Linked DNA regions of Homo sapiens: regions 1, 2 and 3 are each linked to region 4. Evidence: promoter capture Hi-C in human tissues and cell types (Jung and others, 2019). All regions are on one chromosome and are shown on one strand. Each heading gives the region's core, a stretch centred on a gene start or on the middle of the fragment in contact. The rest is flanking DNA. Distances are from core to core; before and after follow the strand shown.

Region 1 (3,188 bases), core at 274-2,773, 580 kb after region 4:
TCCCCATGTTGCCAAGGCTGGTCTCGAATTCTTGGGCTCAAGCAGTCCTCCTGCCCAAGCCTCCCAAAGTACTAGGATTACAGGCATGAGCCTCCATGCCTGGCCCAGATAAATCTTAACACAGCAGTCTGTGGCTTCTCTCTTTCCAGCTCTGCTGAGGCCTGTCAAGGAAGCAGGGATCCTCCTAGAATCCCAGGCTTTGGGGAGTGTAGCTGGGCCAAGGGTCAGTGAGGCAAAACAGTGAGGAGTCCAGACCAATACAGTTCTAATTGGATCCAAGCAGCCAGACAATATCAATTAAAATGCACTTAGTCATGAGACTTACCCCCCTTCTAAGGGGCAGAAATGCTGAACGCTGTAGGGCACGGACAGACTTCTATTTATCTTTGTATCCTCAGTGTCTGGCTTGCTGCCCGGCACATGGTAGGCACTCAATAAATGGCTGGTGAATGAACTACCCAATTAAGGGAAAACATGAAAGAAATGGGAGGCATCCAATGAGAAGAAAGGCACTGGGCAGAGGTTTTAGATTCCCATCCCAGACTTTTCCTGTCACATAGACCTTGGCTTATCTACACACACACAGGCACACACACACACCTACCTATTCCACACACACACACACACATCCCTACCTATTTCCTCTTTTCCACGTGATACTGTAAAGTACACCACCCATCTTTCAAGGCCTGTTTCTTTGCCTTCTCTCTAAGCTCTGCAGTTTCCCTCAGCTTTGAAACCATATGACAAACCTGTTTGTAGGAAGCACAAATAGTGCCTTGGGTAGACTTCCTCCCTGCTCTGTGTTTCTTCAGTAACTGGTGTGTGTCCCAATCTCTGCATTTTTCATCTTGTGTATACTATACTGTCCCTGTTAGTTCCCTTCAGTGTGATTTCTTATTTGTCCCCGTGTCTCCACCTGACTCCAGTTCTGCAGAAGGCAATCAGCAAGTTTACTGACTGTCCTGAAGGAGGCTCAGGTCTGTTTACCATCCCCAAGTCTTAGGAAAGAAAAAGAAAAAAGTCCCGCCCTGGCCACTACATCCCACGAGAAACAAGACCTTAATAACAGTGTAAAAAGAAACTGCTGCCCAAAGAATGAAATCAGCGGGTGGAGGGTGGTCCTTCTAGGTTCTAGGAGCTCAGATGCCAAACAGATGGGATTGGTCCGAGATAGGAATGGAAAAGAAGAGAGAGAGGCTGCCTGCTAACAGTCACGACCTCCGACTCCGGCGGAGCACAGGGCACCGAGTGGTACACAGAGAGCATTTCCCTCCCAATGTGCGCCTCTATTTCCGGACAGACGGCCTCACTGCCAAGAGAGACTGGCCTCTCAGACTCTCCTAGGCGGGTAGCGTAGCTCACAGCGGGCACTGGGACACCCAGTGATTCGGCCGTGTCAGGCCCCACGGCAGAAGGAAAGGAATTCTGGGCCCGACGACTTCAATCCATCCCCACGGCGCCCCAGCTCTGTGACTCACCCGAACTCCACCTCCACTGACAAGGGCGCAGCCATGTTGAGGAAGCCGAGCTCGCAGGAAACTCCCCTCAACTTCCGGCGCGCCCGCAAATTTCCGGGCGTCTCCGGGTGCCGCGGACGGAAGAGGCGGTGCCCAGGGATCCAGCTTCGTCAGCTGTTGGAGGAAGTCATCGAGGGGAGGGGAGGGGAGGGGAGGGCAGCGGAGGGAAAGGGGTGGCAGAGGGACTATCACCGGCGCTGTTGGGGCTGTGAATCGGTCTCCTTCCGTCTTTCACCGACTGGGCTCAGAGACCCAGGGTGGGAAGCGCCTTGTACGGGACCACAAGCAGGCGGAGGAGAGCCCCCAGGTTTTTTGCGACGTGACCGTGAGCCACGTAGCTGCTTATCTTGCATGAGTTAGAATCTCTTCAGTCTACACACCGCTTGGGCCAGCCCATCTACTCGTCTGGTTGGAATTATAAATGACTCCCAGATCTTTATTTCCGACCCAGAATCTCTCCTGAGCGGGCGACTCGCTATCCAGCCGCCCCCTTTGCTGTCGATTTGGAAGTCACTCGTTCAACAGCTGTTCATTGCGCCTCCCTGTGCCAGGCATTTTGATCGGTGCTAGTGGTAAAGGGGATGGGCAAGGTTCCTGCCTTTAGGGCACTCACAGTCTAGCGGGGAGACTAACTGTAATCAAATAAGCATACTAAGACATGTACAACCTCAAACTTAAATAAAGGAACTGAAGTTATAGGAACTTCAAAAAGAAAACTGAGTAGACTGGACTTGCTGGGCTCTAAAACCTGAGTAAACTAGGTGGCTGTGAGGGGAGAGAAACCTCTAGGAGCATTCCAGTGAGGAGGACAAAAGGCCCAGAGGCTCTGGGTGAGAACATGCTGGAACATGGAGAGGAAGGTGGAAGTTAGGGAGCCTGACTTTCATCCATCTAGAGAGGGAGCTGCAAAGGTGCTCAGGGGCCAACCCCTGCCTTGTAAGCAGGTAAACATTTCAGTCTCTAGGAGCAGTGGGAGACTACTGAAGGGTTTTGGGAGACAGTGACATTTTAGAATTGTGTTTTAAAATATAATTTCTGGCTGCAATATGGAGAATGATTTGAGGGGAATAAGGAAAGAGACACGGAGACCACTGGAGCCTGTTGCAAAAGCTCAGGGCAGGCCGGGCGCGGCGGCTCAGGGCAGGCCGGGCGCGGCGGCTCACGCCTGTCATCCCAGCAATTTGGGAGGCCGAGGCAGGCGGATCACGAGGTCAAGAGATCAAGACCATCCTGGCCAACATGGCAAAACCCTGTCTTTACTAAAAAAATACAAAAATTAGCTGGATGTGGTGGCGTGCGCCTGTAGTCCCAGCTACTCGGGAGGCTGAGGCAGAAGAATCGCTGGAACCCGGGAGGTGGAGGTTGCAGTGAGCTGACATCGAGCCACTGCACTCCAGCCTGGTGACAGAGCAAGACTCTGTCTCAAAAAAAAAAAAAAGCCCAGGGCAGAAATGGAATGAAGTTGGCCAGGCACAGTGGCTTATGCCTGTAATCCTAGCACTTCGAGAGGCCACGATGGGCGGATCACGAGGTCAGGAGTTCAAGACCAGTCTAGCCAACATGGTGAAACCCTGTCTCTACTAAAAATACAAAAATTAGCCAGGCATGGTGGCAGTCTCCTGTAATCCCAACTACTCTGGAGGCAGAGGCAGGAGAATCCCTTGAACC
Region 2 (3,110 bases), core at 607-3,106, 530 kb after region 4:
CCAGGTCCCCACCACAGTTCTGTGACCTGCTGTGTGACCTCAGGCAAGTCCCATCTTTCTCTGGGCTTCACGTCCTCCCTCTATAACTTAAGCTGTCCTGCTTATGTCATGGACAAAGATAAGAGAAGAATAATGCATTTTTTTTGAGATGGAATCTTGCTCTGTCGCCCAGGCTGTAGTGCAGTGGTATGATCTCGACTCACTGCAACCTCCGCCTCCCGGGTTCAAGTGATTCTCCTGCCTCAGCCTCCTGAGTACCTGGGATTACAGGTGTGCACCACCATGCCCGGCTAATTTTTGTTTGTTTAGTAGAGATGGGGTTTCACCATGTTAGCCAGGCTGGTCTTGAACTCCTCACCTCAGGTGATCTGCCCACTTCGGCCTCCCAAAGTGCTGAAATTACAGGCGTGAGCCACCACACCTGGCCAACGAATGCATTTTGAAAGATGAAAAGTACCTCGACTTTAAGGATCACACCTGGTGCATTCCCTGGTTACCTTCGTTAGGTGGGCAGATACCTACCTATGTGACCTGTGGCTGTGTGACCACAGGCCAGCCCCTGTCCCTCTCTGAATGGGGACTAGACAGAAGAGCTGCTGCTTTCCTCCACCCCCAGGTTGTAATAAGGACCAAACCATGCTCTAAGCGTCCCTAAGAATGCAGATGGGTCCAAGCTCTGCTGTCATGGGGCACAGCCTCCCCTCTCCTGGGGAAGGGGCCCCCATAACAGAGGTGGGGGTTTAGCCAAGTGCCCAGGTTTTGGGTGATGCTGCCCCTTTAAGCCAATTCCCCAGAAATGAAGACTACGTGTCAAGTCTTACAGGGGTGGGAACTAACAAACTCCCAAACTGTGGTAATTGTGGGCGGCCTCCCCAGGCCAGGGCTCCACCCCCCCAGCCCAACTGTGGTGTGTTGAAGAGGGTGGCTTGTCATTTTTCTCAGTTTACCCCCAACCTCAGCCAGGGACTCCTCCCTGTTCTGGTGTCTACAGACCAGGGGTTGTGGCCTTCGATCCCAGTGCCCTGGGGGTACAGAGATGCCAGAGGGGAGAGGCTCCAGGAAGGGGGACTGCCCTTGGCTGACAGGATCCCGCCCCTCTACCAAGATCTACCAAGAGAGCTGGCCCCAGCACGGGGGCGGTGGGGGGGCCGGTCTGACTCCCCTGCACAGCCCGGAGCCCAGTGCTGATGGCACCCCCAACCTGTGCCCGGAAGCCTCCAGCGTGGTCGATCCCTGCCACGTTGGGCCCCAGTGGACTTCAGAGGTTCCTGTCTGCTCCTCTTCAAATCCAGCCAACCACAGGTCCCACTGGGGTTGAGCTGGGCCCTGAAGGCTGGGGTGAAAAGGGCTGGCTGGGCCCAACCTACACCCAGGGAAGGCCCCAAGAGGAAGGAGTAGGGGACCAGAAGGAGGGGTGGGTGTCCCGCGTCGGCCTGTGGCCTCAGAGGTCTGTCGTCTCCCAGCAGGGGGCTCGGGGTCCTCTCTGGCGGCTCGGGCTGGCAGGGCCGTCTGTGAGGGGAGGGGCCTGTCTAGGTGGTGTCTGGGCAGGGAGCGAGCAGACAGGGCCGCCGGGGGCGGGGGCCATCTGCGAAGCTGGGGGTTAGGTGCCCACTCGGTGCCAATGCCCGGGTCTCTCACCAGAGGGCCATCCTGGCCCGGGGGTAGTCCAGCCGCTCCAGAGCGCCCAGGTAGTGGGGCAGCGAGTGTTCGGCATTGCGGGCCAGGATGGCAAGGACCACGGCGGGCAGCGGCGACTCCGCAACGCCCGCAGCCTCCAGCCACGGCCCCAGCAGGAGCAGCAGCTGGAGCAGCGGCGCGGCGCGGGCAGCGCGCATGGCGGGCGCTTGGGCGGCTGCAGCGGCCCCCGGAGCTCTCGGGCCGGCCGAGGGGAGGGGGCGGGGCCTGGGGCCCGGGCGGGGCCGAGGCAGACCCGGAGAGGGCGGGGCAGTGCACCCTCAGAGTGGGATCCTGCTCCCCACCCCTGTGCGTGGATGCTCAAGTTTTCTCTCCTTGGCCCGGGGCACCGGAGGGCCAGGGCCCGGGGACCCGCGCCAGCCGCGACCCTGGAGCAGCCCCGCCCGGCTGGACCCCGGAGGGGCGACGGCGGAGGGGCCGGAGGACCGGACAGGGGAGGGGTGCTAGGACGAGTGCGTCGGGGCCGGCCGGGCGTCCGAGAACAGTAGGGGCTCATGGAACCCCTGGGCGTTGAACCCCCGGAATCCGGATTCCCCGGCCCACGCAGCCGACTCTTCGACCTGAGCCGCAGACCCAGAGGGGCGGCGCCCACTCGGCCACCACCTCCCGGGCTTCCCCGGCTCCCGCCCCATCCTCCGCCCCGGGCGCCCTCTGGCGGCCCTGGCGCTAGCTCCGCAGACCAGCCGGGCCACGCGTGGGCCGGAGACCCAGCGTGGGGGGCGCAGAGGGAGTCCCCCTGAGCTGGGCGCGTCCTCCCGCGGCGGTCCGCTCCTTAAGTCCCCTGTGCGTCACCTCCTTGCGTCGGTCGCCAGCACCCGCATTGCTTCGGCCCTTTAAGAGAGCACAGCCAGGCCGGGCGTGGTAGCTCACGCCTGTAATCCCGGCACTTTGGGAGACCGAGGCGGGAGGATCACCTGAGATCAGTTCAAGACCAGCCTGGCCAAGATGGTGAAATCCCATCTGTACTAAAAATACAAAAATTAGCCGGGCGTCGTGGCGGGTGCCTGTACTCCCAGCTACTTGGGAGGCTGAGGCAGGAGAATCGCTTGAACCCGGGAGGCGGAGGTTGCAGTGAGCCGAGATCGCGCCACTGCACTACAGCCTGGATGACAGACCGAGACTCCGTCTCAAAAAGAAAAAAAAAAAAAGAGCACAGCCCTCACAGCCCTCTCTTGGTCTGAGTGTAGAACTAGGGGACACCACGGAGCTGCTCACTGCGACCCGACCCGTCCGTCCTCCAAAGCAGGGGATGTTGGCTCCCCTGGAGCACCGCCGGGGTCCTTAGGACCCTGCTGGGAGGGAAAGAACTCTGCAGCCTCTCGGGAGAGGAGCAGAAAAGGGAGCGGCCTGGCGGCACCACAGATGGGATCGAACTGGGTGTCTGTCACCAACCTCAGACAGGTCCCTTTCCCTCA
Region 3 (3,319 bases), core at 24-2,523, 630 kb after region 4:
ACTGAAAAATGCAAAAACCATTCTTAACTCATAGGCCACAAAAAACAAGCCAGATGCGGTGGCTCATTCATGTAATCCCAGCACTTTGGGAGGCCGAGGCAGGCGGATCACTTGAGGTCAAGAGTTCAAGACCAGCCTGGCCAACATGATGAAACTCCGTCTCTACTAAAAATACAAAAAATTAGCTAGGTATGGAGGCAGGTGCCTGTAATCCTAGCTACTCAGGAGGCTGAGGCATGAGAATCGCTTGAATCTGGGAGGTGGAGGTTGCAGTGAGTTGAGATGGCGCCACTGCACTCCAGCCTGGGTGACAAAGTGAGACTCCATCTCAAAACAAAACAAAACAAAACAAGCAAACACACACACACAAAAAAAAAACAGTCTTCAGTCTTCAGGTTTGACTTGTGGACTGTAGTTTGCTGACCCTTTTTCTATTCTGGGACTCCAGGTGAGAAATGAGACCCTAGGTAGAAGTCCTAAGGTAGGGGTTTTGGGTTTCTGGGAAAGAATAAGTTTATTTATTTATTTATTTGACAGAGTCTTGCTCTGTTGCCCAGGCTGGAGTCTGGAGTGCAGTGGTGTGATCTCAGCTCACTGCAACCTCCATCTCCCAGGTTCAAGCTATTCTCTTGCCTCAGCCTCCCAAGTAGCTGGGATTACAGGTGTGTGCCACCACACCCAGCTAATTTTTGTATTTTTAGTAGAGATGGGGTTTCACCATGTTGGCCAGGCTGGTCTCGAACTCCTGACCTCAGGTGATCCGCCCACCTTGGCCTCCCAAAGTGCTGGGATTACAGGTGTGAGCCACTGCGCCCAGCCGAAAGAGTGATTTTTTTACTGAATAAAGTTGCCCAACAATGGAACTGGTTCTGGTAATGTGTCCCCATCACTAGATGTGATTAAGGCATGTGTCAGGGAATCTAGAGGTTTGACCAGAAACCTCAAAAACCCGTTGGACTTGTGATATTCAATGACTCTATTATATGGTAACAATAAGAAGTATAATGTATTGAGTCGCCACTCTGTACTAGGCATTGTGTTAAGCTTCCCCCAAGTACAATCCTCATTGATATCACCACAGTGCTGTGAGATGGGTCCTATTTTCATTTCACAAGGGAGAAAACTGAGGCTCAGTGTTGACATTTAGTAACATGGCCTGGATTCAATAGGCCCTTAACTACCCTGGACTCTTCCCCTAGATTCCTCTTAATCTGTAGAAGTGTAAACACTTCTGGCTCATTCCTGCATTTATTCTTTCAGTAGTTCTTTCCTGAGCAGCTAGTGAGTTGACACACCCAGGTTCTGCCTTAAGGAGCTCACAGCCTCCATTTTCCTCCAGGGACTCTTCCTCAGTAGAGCTGGGCAGGGAACCCCGCACTCTTGACCTTCAGTGTTACGCCAGTCTTCTTAGAGCCTCTCACTGGGAGACTGATGATAGGCAGAGTAAGAGGCATCTTGGGCTGCCCTTTGGATCCCAGGGCACTGAGGATACAGTTCAGGGTCCCAGATTCCATGACGGGGAAGCCTGAGAGTCTGGCCTGATGCTAGTTTGGGCTCCATGAGGCCCATTCTGAGAACGAGGTCAACATGCAGCCCAAAGCCATCCTGGGGTGGCATTTAGTTGAGAAAATGGACCTTGTTTGTTTCTTTCCAGTATGTGGACCAGCATTCGCCCATCTCAAGGTTGGCGTGGGACATCGGTTGGATGCCCAGGCTTCTGGAGTACTTGGTAGGTGATGTGAGAAGCCTGGGGGTACAGTGATAAGGCTTGAGAAAAGATCCTGAAGCTACCAGGAGCCCAGCCCACTTCTTACCTGGCACCCACGTCCCACCACTCCTCTCCTGCCCTGATTCCTGCCCCAAGGCTGATCAGCTGGGGAGTGGATAGGTGGGACGGAGGTAATCACAGGTTAATACCACAGTCACCCACCTTTATTCAGTGATTCCCACACATGACATAGTTCGAGGCCCTTTATGCACATTTATTTACCACAACAACTTTATTAGGTAGATACTATATGATTTTATGGAAGAAGAAAGTAGGATTTAGGTGACTTGTTCTGGGTCCCATGGCCAGTGAATACCCCTGGTCCGGAGAAGGAAAACCATCATTGCATCATGGGGCAGCCAGGCGCGTGACTCTGGACCTAATGGCCAGGGCCTGCATGTGGCTGGGTCTGGACACACAAAGCCCTAGTCATGAGCCATCTGTGTCCCCAGGGTCAGGTGGTGCCCACATCCTCCAGCCGCGACAGTCACAGTCCCCTTGTCTTGCTTCCTGAGGCACAGGCAGGCAGACATGATCTCATGCCCCCTCTCCCTGTTCTGTCTCCCCACGAGTGAATGCAGAGTTATTCTGTCCCTCAGCCAGAGGGAGAAACAGACCGGGAGAAAGGCAGGAAGTGACCACAGTGGCCACCGTTTATTGGGCCCTTCCTCTGTGCCGACTGCACAGCACCCACAGGAATCAGTATTTTTTTTTTTTCCTGAGACAGAGTCTTGCTCTGTCTCCCAGGCTGGAGTGCAATGGCATGATCTCGGCTCACTGGAACCTCCGCCTCCTGGGTTCAAGCAATTCTCCCTGCCTTAGCCTCCCGAGTAGGTGGGATTACAGGTGCCCGCCACCACGCCTGGCTAATTTTTTTTTTTTTTTTTTGTGAGACGGAGTCTCACTCTTGTTGCCCAAGCTGGAGTGTAGTGTAGCACCACACCTGGTTAATTTTGTATTTTTTGGTAGAGATGGGGTTTCACCATGTTGGCCAAGCTGGTCTCAAACTCCTGACCTCAGGTGATCCACCTGCCTCGGCCTCCCAAAGTTCTGGGATTACAGGCATGAGCCACTGCGCCTGGCCTTCAGACAGTATTTTTACCCCCATTTTACTGATGGGGAACTTGACGCTCAAAGAGGCTAAAGATTATACTCAGAGCTGTCCCTGATTTGAGTGCAGGTTTGTGTGACTAGGCCAGGGATCTCTTCCTCTCAGGTGTCAGAATCCTGTGGAGAGCTTGGCAGGGATCCTAGGCCCCCTCCAACCATGAGTCAGATTCAGTGCATATGGGTAAGGCCCAGCAATCTGCATGTGATATATACCCAGAGGGGTGCACCTGCCCCCTGTAGAAGATCTTTTTGCCTTCTTGTTGCCTTTGGCAGCATCAGAAAAGGGAGTATTCTGATGGTGGGGGTAGGGGTGGGGATACTTAGGGGAATGGGAAGGGGGTCCCAGGTGTGAGATGACGCTGGCTGCTTTTCAGTGCTCGGCGTGGGACATGGATGCAGGCTCCTCACCGATATGTACAATGCTCATCTTACCAAGGTACG
Region 4 (3,157 bases), core at 21-2,520:
GTGCCTGTATCCCCAGCTACTTGGGAGGCTGAGGCAGGAGAATGGCATGAACCCGGGAGACAGAGCTTGCAGTGAGCCGAGATCGTGCCATTGCACTCCAGCCTGGGCGACAGAGCGAGACTCCGTCTCAAAAAAAAAAAAAAAAAAAAAAAAAAAAAAAAGTGGGGAAAACACTGCTGGCACAGGGAAGGATAAGAGACGGGGATGTTTAACTTTGAGGGAGGGTGGTGGGAAGAACGAAGACCTTCGAGCTGCAATGTGGAAGACAGAAGGAGGCGTGGTGGTCTGGTTATAGCACTGGAGGTACGCAGACTTCAGCTTGAAGGCTCTCTTTATCACTTGGCTAGCTCTGAGCCGGACTTCTGAGTCATCTGTGAAATAGAAGGCGCCTCTCGGAGTTGCGAGAATTGAATGAGATAACTCCTGGGAAGCGCTCCACCAGGGTCTGACGCTAGAAAGCACTTTGTCAGAATTGTAGTTTTCGTATATAATATTTCATCTTCTTGTCCCTAAAGCCTAGTTCAATCCCTGAAATCTCTTGGAGGATTTGGACATGCTGGCTGACTTGATTCAGTGCAAGAAAAGAACGATACGAGGCGCGGAGAGGACAGAAGCCGCAAGCGTGGCTCCGCTCAACGCGAAACAAAATCCTAACAAGAACAGATCGCGGGAGAGGTCGGGGAGCCAGCAGGGCGCACTCGACGCCGGGGCAGGACACTGGGAGCCTGCAGCAGGGACGTGGGTGGGGGGTACCCCAGGAGACCGCAAAGCTCCCCGTGGCTCGAGGGAGCGTCACGGCCGGAGAAGGAAGCGCGGGTGGGGCGCCAAGAGACGCGTCGGAGGTGAGAGAGGAGGAAGGCAAAGGGCCCTGGGTGAGGAGATGGGAGGCCGAGCGCGGAGGGAAGGGGTGAAGAGCCGGCCCCCCTCCTGAAGAAGACTCTTCAGATCCCCGCGCGCGGGGACCGTTTGGACGTAACCGCCTCCCGTCTCGGTGCCCGTCCATCCAGCCGGGGTTGGCCCTGCCACTGTCGCCACATCCCGCCTCCAATTCCCGCCCCGCTTCCGCTCGGCTTTGACACCGCGCTTCACAGCCACCCCGGTCCATTCGACCCGCTCCGCACCTCACACACGGCCCGCCGGCGGCCGCCGCCATCTTCGCGCGCCCGCTCGCCCTAACCCCGCCCCCAGACGCCATGCCCACGTGACCGCTCGCCCCCGGACCCGGAGCGTGGGCGGGGATTTCGTCACGTGACGTTGCCGCGGGGCGGTGCCAAGATGGCGAGGCCCAAAGAGGTGAGGAGCCGGCAGCGGGGGCGGCTGTAACTGTGAGGAAGGCTGCAGAGTGGCGACGTCTACGCCGTAGGTTGGAGGCTGTGGGGGGTGGCCGGGCGCCAGCTCCCAGGCCGCAGAAGTGACCTGCGGTGGAGTTCCCTCCTCGCTGCTGGAGAACGGAGGGAGAAGGTTGCTGGCCGGGTGAAAGTGCCTCCCTCTGCTTGACGGGGCTGAGGGGCCCGAAGTCTAGGGCGTCCGTAGTCGCCCCGGCCTCCGTGAAGCCCCAGGTCTAGAGATATGACCCGAGAGTGCCCATCTCCGGCCCCGGGGCCTGGGGCTCCGCTGAGTGGATCGGTGCTGGCAGAGGCGGCAGTAGTGTTTGCAGTGGTGCTGAGCATCCACGCAACCGTATGGGACCGATACTCGTGGTGCGCCGTGGCCCTCGCAGTGCAGGCCTTCTACGTCCAATACAAGTGGGACCGGCTGCTACAGCAGGGAAGCGCCGTCTTCCAGTTCCGAATGTCCGCAAACAGTGGCCTATTGCCCGCCTCCATGGTCATGCCTTTGCTTGGACTAGTCATGAAGGAGCGGTGCCAGACTGCTGGGAACCCGTTCTTTGAGCGTTTTGGCATTGTGGTGGCAGCCACTGGCATGGCAGTGGCCCTCTTCTCATCAGTGTTGGCGCTCGGCATCACTCGCCCAGTGCCAACCAACACTTGTGTCATCTTGGGCTTGGCTGGAGGTGTTATCATTTATATCATGAAGCACTCGTTGAGCGTGGGGGAGGTGATCGAAGTCCTGGAAGTCCTTCTGATCTTCGTTTATCTCAACATGATCCTGCTGTACCTGCTGCCCCGCTGCTTCACCCCTGGTGAGGCACTGCTGGTATTGGGTGGCATTAGCTTTGTCCTCAACCAGCTCATCAAGCGCTCTCTGACACTGGTGGAAAGTCAGGGGGACCCAGTGGACTTCTTCCTGCTGGTGGTGGTAGTAGGGATGGTACTCATGGGCATTTTCTTCAGCACTCTGTTTGTCTTCATGGACTCAGGCACCTGGGCCTCCTCCATCTTCTTCCACCTCATGACCTGTGTGCTGAGCCTTGGTGTGGTCCTACCCTGGCTGCACCGGCTCATCCGCAGGAATCCCCTGCTCTGGCTTCTTCAGTTTCTCTTCCAGACAGACACCCGCATCTACCTCCTAGCCTATTGGTCTCTGCTGGCCACCTTGGCCTGCCTGGTGGTGCTGTACCAGAATGCCAAGCGGTCATCTTCCGAGTCCAAGAAGCACCAGGCCCCCACCATCGCCCGAAAGTATTTCCACCTCATTGTGGTAGCCACCTACATCCCAGGTATCATCTTTGACCGGCCACTGCTCTATGTAGCCGCCACTGTATGCCTGGCGGTCTTCATCTTCCTGGAGTATGTGCGCTACTTCCGCATCAAGCCTTTGGGTCACACTCTACGGAGCTTCCTGTCCCTTTTTCTGGATGAACGAGACAGTGGACCACTCATTCTGACACACATCTACCTGCTCCTGGGCATGTCTCTTCCCATCTGGCTGATCCCCAGACCCTGCACACAGAAGGGTAGCCTGGGAGGAGCCAGGGCCCTCGTCCCCTATGCCGGTGTCCTGGCTGTGGGTGTGGGTGATACTGTGGCCTCCATCTTCGGTAGCACCATGGGGGAGATCCGCTGGCCTGGAACCAAAAAGACTTTTGAGGGGACCATGACATCTATATTTGCGCAGATCATTTCTGTAGCTCTGATCTTAATCTTTGACAGTGGAGTGGACCTAAACTACAGTTATGCTTGGATTTTGGGGTCCATCAGCACTGTGTCCCTCCTGGAAGCATACACTACACAGATAGACAATCTCCTTCTGCCTC

The links. Contacts are between HindIII fragments. The study calls those that stand out against the background at their distance.
Region 1: the fragment with the promoter of URM1 here is called in contact with the fragment with the promoter of DOLK in region 4 in 1 of the 25 tissues and cell types used here (dorsolateral prefrontal cortex).
Region 2: a contact is called between the fragment with the promoter of CERCAM here and the fragment with the promoter of DOLK in region 4, in 1 of the 25 tissues and cell types used here (lymphoblastoid cells).
Region 3: a contact is called between a fragment that was not itself captured here and the fragment with the promoter of DOLK in region 4, in 1 of the 25 tissues and cell types used here (dorsolateral prefrontal cortex).

Annotation. Positions count from the first base shown.
Region 1 is chr9:128,369,709-128,372,896 of GRCh38, reverse strand. It overlaps URM1 (ubiquitin related modifier 1), which reads right to left and starts at 1,523. Exons shown (of 5, transcript NM_030914.4): 1 at 1,482-1,523. The coding sequence starts at 1,516. RefSeq lists enhancers at 1,325-1,424, 1,488-2,351, 2,352-3,188. The HindIII fragment of the contact is 22,131 bases long and covers 1-3,188 here.
Region 2 is chr9:128,419,603-128,422,712 of GRCh38, reverse strand. CERCAM (cerebral endothelial cell adhesion molecule) reads right to left here and starts at 1,856. Exons shown (of 13, transcript NM_016174.5): 1 at 1,639-1,856. The coding sequence starts at 1,835. RefSeq lists an enhancer at 1,121-1,310 and a silencer at 1,571-2,470. The HindIII fragment of the contact is 34,497 bases long and covers 1-3,110 here.
Region 3 is chr9:128,315,562-128,318,880 of GRCh38, reverse strand. It overlaps TRUB2 (TruB pseudouridine synthase family member 2), which reads left to right. Exons shown (of 8, transcript NM_015679.3): 3 at 1,655-1,729; 4 at 3,253-3,314. It overlaps LOC105376286 (a long non-coding RNA gene), which reads right to left. Exons shown (of 3, transcript XR_930377.3): 3 at 1,982-3,319. Among named protein-coding and RNA genes, the nearest start is that of TRUB2, 5.2 kb to the left of the region's middle. The HindIII fragment of the contact is 1,882 bases long and covers 333-2,214 here.
Region 4 is chr9:128,945,716-128,948,872 of GRCh38, reverse strand. It overlaps DOLK (dolichol kinase), which reads left to right and starts at 1,270. Exons shown (of 1, transcript NM_014908.4): 1 at 1,270-3,157. The coding sequence starts at 1,570. NUP188 (nucleoporin 188) reads right to left here and starts at 1,174. Exons shown (of 44, transcript NM_015354.3): 1 at 1,122-1,174. The coding sequence starts at 1,153. RefSeq lists enhancers at 1,055-1,104, 824-1,385, 1,455-1,524, 1,386-1,947, 1,948-2,510. The HindIII fragment of the contact is 11,289 bases long and covers 1-3,157 here.